Regions from separate parts of the Homo sapiens genome. Here region 2 is linked to region 1. Evidence: promoter capture Hi-C in 16 types of primary human blood cells and fetal thymus (Javierre and others, 2016). All regions are on one chromosome and are shown on one strand. Each heading gives the region's core, a stretch centred on a gene start or on the middle of the fragment in contact. The rest is flanking DNA. Distances are from core to core; before and after follow the strand shown. Region 1 holds the start of NGLY1 (N-glycanase 1). Region 2 overlaps ATXN7 (ataxin 7).

Region 1 (2,800 bases), core at 96-2,595:
TGCATCTTTCATAGCATCTGCCACAAAATAAGGGCTCAATATATTTTCCCTTCAATTTACTTTAAAAATCATTACCATTGCCTAAATGAAATATTACTGACATGGATTTTAAAAACTGCACATGTAACTAATGTCTAAAATTGGGTCACGTGAAACCTATAACCTTGAAACTGAGAATTTCCTTTTAGACTTCATGACAATATACCAAACACTTAATGCACCAGGGGCTGAGGGGAACAGAGAACCTAATTAATCACGGTGACCTGATAAATGAGGTAACACCCCTAAAGCAAGTGGCTCTCCTTTAACCTCAGTTCCATTTCCCTACCCCCCCACACCATGTCCCTTCAGATCATTTGATCTGAAGAGTTGAGGTGGGTACTTATTCAAAATGAATAATCAAACTTGCCTCCCAATTCCCAAAATCTGCAAGGTCCCTTAGACCTCTAGAAGTGCAATTTTGCTGACAGGAGAATGAAGGAAATTACTCTCATCCAAGGCGATTACCTCCACGAATTCTTAAAGGGTTATGTTACATAGTAGAATCCAGGTATTAATATAAAAACTGTAACTTCAAAATACTATAATGTTTCAATCAACAAAAGTGGGCAGAAAAAAAATTAAAAATTTTAAAACCCACCACTTCAGAAGCATTATGCTTTAGTACTCGGATAGTCTCAACATGGGAAGAAAACATCACTTTGTCAGTGAGTAACTTCTGATAAGTATGTGGAAATGTAAGCCACTCCGCTCGAAAAATGCACGCAGGGGGAATGACACGCGCGGTGCGGTTACCGTTGTGTCCCGATATCTGAGGCCGTTAAACGACGAGAAGAGCGGCAGTGTCTGAAGCACGCCTTCCTACCTCTCCTCCGCCCGGCCCCGCTTCCGGGACTCCAGTTCACCCGCAGCACCCTGACTGCAGGTGCCAAGTCACAACTGCAAAGAAACTTCCTTTTCTCGAGCGGGGGTGGGACTTGGCCGGGTCCCGAGGCCCCTGGCCGGCGGGCTCGGACGTTAGGAGCAGAACCAGCTCCAGGTCCCGGTCTGTCCGGGCGTCGCTGCCCTCTGAAGCTCAGGCCGGACGCCCCAGTCCCTGGCCGAACAAGGTGCCGCGGCCCACCCACCCCGGTACCCGCCGTCCGACCCCGTTGCCCTGCACCTGAGGATGTTGTCAGCATAGGTGAGCAGCAGCTTGGAGGCCTCCAAAAAGGTCTCCGGGGTGTTCTGGCAGAGCTCAGCCACGGCCGGGGACGCCGAGCCTGAGGAGCTGCCCAATGCCGCCGCCGCCATGCTTGAGCGCCAGCGGGCGCCGCCGCCGCCCCTCGCTCTCCGCGTCCCACACTGAGCAGGCGCCTCAGCGCGCAGCAGCTACCGCAGCCACCGGCAGGGGCGGGGTCCTCGGCCGGCAGGGGCGGGGTCCTCGGCCGGCAGGGGCGGGGTCCTCGGCCGGCAGGGGCGGGGTCCTCGGCCGGCAGGGGCGGGGTCTTCGGCCGGCAGGGGCGGGGTCGGGGGCCTGGGGCGGGGTCGGGGACCGGGGCCAGGAGCGGGGGAGCTCGGCTGGGAGCTACGGCTGCCCCTTCGCGGGGGGCAAGGGGCTGTTCGGAAGAAGGTGGGGGGCCTCGGCCGGCAGGGGCGAGGTGCTTCGACCCAGAGTTGGGGCCTGGTCGTACAGGTTGGGAAGGGGTTCCGCAGGGAGAGGCGGGGCCTGGGCTCCGGGGCTGAGGGGTGTGGGCCTGGAGGAGGGGGATGTCGAGTCCTTTAGGACGGAGGAGCTCGGCTGGAGGGGAGGCCGGCTTTGGTCTAGAGGTATCGGGCGAATGGTGCTGGCACGTGCCTCTCAGAAACCCGGATCCCTTTGCGCTCCGGGGCCAGCCTAATTGATCCAGCTATTAAGGTGGAGAAACCGCATGTACCTCCCTCCTTTCCCCACAAATAAAACCACCTTAGAGCCTTCTCTTCGCAGATTGTCAGGACGTTCTACATAGATGTGGATGAAAGACTACAGAAGGAAGGAGCAACAAACGTCAAAAACAAAACCATGGCTATAAACTCTGCTGGGTTTGTTATATGGATTCTTTTCAGAATTTGGCTAATGACTGAAAATCTAAGTTCCAGCTCAACTAGTATATGATTCCTCTGTAAGGAAGTGTATTTTTAAACCATAGGTTGCGACATAATAATGGGTTGTGGATTCGGTTTACCGCGTGGTGACCAGCGTAAAACACATGCATAATAATTACGCAATATTATAGAATGTCGGGGGCGGGAAGGGAATAAAAATTTGCATCCCACACAGTAAGGGTAAGTAATATTTTGTGACTTGTTTTTTAGGTAGATCATGTGATCAAGGTCTTTTATTCCTCTTAGAAGATGCATCCCTTACTACTTTAATCCAGTCTCTTCCCCACCATGTTCTTGAAAGTGTACTTTACCAGTGGCTTCCTTCTTTGCAGAAATTCCTTTTCAACCTCACGAAGTATTTTTCTTGACTTTATTTCTTAAGATAAGTGATTTGCCTGAATAACCTCTTTTAAATTTCTTGATGTTTCATCTGTTTACTTTTAAGAATTGAAATTTTCTTCCAGAATCTCCGAACAAGACCCTAAGCTATGACATCCAGTTCAATGACTATTCGTCTCCCAAATATACGTACGCTTTTAATAAATATGTAAATCTTTGGACCACCTTCCAAGTATGGTGTGTTCAACAGATAGTAGTATGTTACTACCGTCTGTAACTAAAATTTTCAGGGGCTTAACACAAGAGTAATTTCTTTCTGGCTCATATAACACTTTAA
Region 2 (2,800 bases), core at 198-2,697, about 38 Mb after region 1:
GGCTGCCCCCTGAACCCAAACCTTGAGTGTTCCTCCTAGCCTCCTGCAAGTTTGCCTGTTTGCTGCGAATAGGCTAATGCACAGTTCAGAACTCCCTTTGTGCACTAGAGTAAAATTGACATGTGTACACCATCCAAACCACAGCTGATACATATAATTTTCGGTCAGTGAGGCACGGATGTTATTCTATTAAGATGTTATTTTAGTCTGTAGTATTTTTTTAGTCTGTAGTCTTAATTTTTTTCTTAGGGAAAAAGAAATATGACCATGTCCCCAGACCTAGACAATTAACGTCTGAGCCATCATTGGGATATTTAATATCAAAATAAACTTTATTTGGATAGGATATCGAGAAACGGTTTGAAGAAAATTGTGATAATGCTTTACAAGCAGAACAAAGCAGTATTTGCTTAAACATTTTATTCAGGGCATTAAGGGGGCACATGTGAGTGTTTAAAATTTTAATCTGAGCTTTGTTCTCAATTTCTGTGTATGTGTACAAAATTAATATTTTCCTGGCATACACGACCATTCATCCCTTTTCTGATGTAGGTCTTAAAAATAAGTTAAAATTCGTTTTTCTCTTGTTTATTTGTGAACTTAAATATAGACGTTTGTTTGTAGCATTTAAGAACATTTGCTAAAATTCACCCTGGTTTTTTACAGGGTTGCAGAACGACTTGATTCTTAGAACTGTCTTGGATTGGCTGACTCTCATAACGATATTTTTCCCCACTGTATTTCGTACAATCACTGTGTACGAAAGGGAATATTAGAAAGGCAAGCATTTGTGCTAGGAAGGCCAGCAAGGACTCTGGTGTTCTGTCATACAAGTACAGTGATAGGGAAGTGAGATTTAGCTCCAGAAAGATCCTCCTACCCTGTTCTTTTCTGCTATTGATGGCATTAAGGAGATTCCTTGGCTACCCCTGCAGGGAGGGCAGGTGAAGTAGGGTGAACAATACTAAGACCTGTGGCAATCAGGTTTTACAGCCATGGAATTTTTTTTTTCTAGCTTAAGAAAAGCTTCAGTGAATTAACTTAAAATTCTTATTTTCGCTTATGAGCTTTTAAAAAGATTTGGGAGATGTATCCTCATCCTGTGCTTCTAAGGCTTGCTGATGGCTCTTCCCTTGCGTTCTTCTAGTGTCTTCTAAGGGCTTCCATAGTTTTGGATTGTATGAACGTTACTGTAAGGAATCTGGGGGAAAAAAAGTGGGTTTCAGAAAACCCCCTGGGTCTTAGTATTGTTGACATGGGTTGGGATCTGAATCCTTGTGAAAATAGGGCAGTGCAGCTACTGTTCTTCTGTTTTAGAGTCAATTTAGAATTTGGTCTAATAGAAGCCGTTTTCATGCCTCTCTCAGAACTCTTCCCCGCACCTTTCAGGCTAAATCATTTCCACATATGTAATTCATGACTTTTGCCAAATATTCTGTATGGGGTGATAGGATTCTGTAGAAGAATCTTTTGCTGCTTCTTTTGACATTTAAAAGAGTTCATTTTGAACTATCAGGTATCTAAGTCATTATTATCATAAAACTCAGATCACTTGGCAGTTTTTTCCATGTCACTTGTGGGGATTTTTTGTTGTTGTTTTGTTTTTATTAGAACTCTGTCACCTGGGCTGGAGTGCGGTGGCACAGTCATAGCTTACTGCAGCCTCAAACTCCTGGACTCTTGCCTCACCCTCCCAGGTAGTTGGGATTACAGGTGTGAGCCATTACACCCCATTCTGTGTCATTTGACAGTAGATTTGTTGATTGGCCAGAGAGAGGGAGTGTGATAGGGATGATAGGGAAACAGGCCAGGAAGACACTGTTTTCAAGGGGGCACTCAGTGAGAGAAATTCTTGGATTTAAAAGTATGAAAGCTTTAGTCAGTCCTCTAGTGATTGAACAACAAACTGGACAAATGTGGATATGAAATTATACATATTTTACAAATATGCACAGAAAGTGGGTTCAGATATTTTGTTACTAGATTTAGGAAGGAAAAGTATGCTTAGGAATAATAAACTTTTTTTGAAAAGCTTAGCAACTGTAGATAGTATAGGGGAAATAAAACCTGGAAAAATGCTGCAGGTATTTTATAGAAATGTTTAACTTTAAGACCTTTAGGTCTACCGAGACTTAAAATGTAGGTTTTTAAATAAATCATGTAAGTTTTGTAATATACCTGGTAGTAGCTTTGTCAGTTTAAAGGTATTCAGAAAAAAAATTCACAAAATATAAGTAATTTGCATTTTAGCAGGTTAAACTTATAAATTCCATCTTCCCCAGTTTTGACAAGTTGCCTTTCCAATAGAAAGATTAATTTACACCAGCCAGGACGCCTTGTATGACCATATTAGATGAAATTAGACTCCACCCCCTGTTTTCTGTTGATCTGCCAGGACCTTTGTAATTCAAGTGCTTTTTACAGTAGTAGCAAATGTTACATAAGCCCAAACATGGAGCATATTTGGAGTTGGTGGGCAGACCCAAATCATGATGCAAGCCTGCAGTAGCAAGTGTGCAATGAAGCACAACCAAATTCTGTGAATGGAAGGTAGCAAGACGCCTCTCCAAAGCAGCCCTTCTGCGCAGGAGCTGAAAGCTCCACTGGGTAAGTTTTCTGAGGCAGTTTTCAGAGTCTGGGCTTGGCTCAGGGCCCAGCTCTGGATGAGCCTGTGGACGGTGGGGTAGGTCTTTGCTAACCTTACATAGAACCAAGCAGATTTGGGAAGAGTTTATGCAGGCCTTTTTCCTCCTGGCATTTGTCTTGCCTTGCCAGCAGGCCAGGAGGGTTCTGCTGCTCA

Evidence for each region. Contacts are between HindIII fragments. The CHiCAGO score rates a contact against its expected background, and 5 or more counts as called.
Region 2: a contact is called between a fragment that was not itself captured here and the fragment with the promoter of NGLY1 in region 1, in 1 of 17 cell types (naive CD4 T cells). The highest score is 6.1, in naive CD4 T cells.

The regions. Positions count from the first base shown.
Region 1 is chr3:25,782,098-25,784,897 of GRCh38, forward strand. NGLY1 (N-glycanase 1) reads right to left here and starts at 1,346. Exons shown (of 12, transcript NM_018297.4): 1 at 1,163-1,346. The coding sequence starts at 1,293. RefSeq lists enhancers at 696-775, 936-985 and a silencer at 1,296-1,535. The HindIII fragment of the contact is 11,918 bases long and covers 1-2,800 here.
Region 2 is chr3:63,965,369-63,968,168 of GRCh38, forward strand. All of the region lies in intron 5 of ATXN7 (ataxin 7), which reads left to right. Among named protein-coding and RNA genes, the nearest start is that of PSMD6-AS2, 37 kb to the right of the region's middle. The HindIII fragment of the contact is 847 bases long and covers 1,025-1,871 here.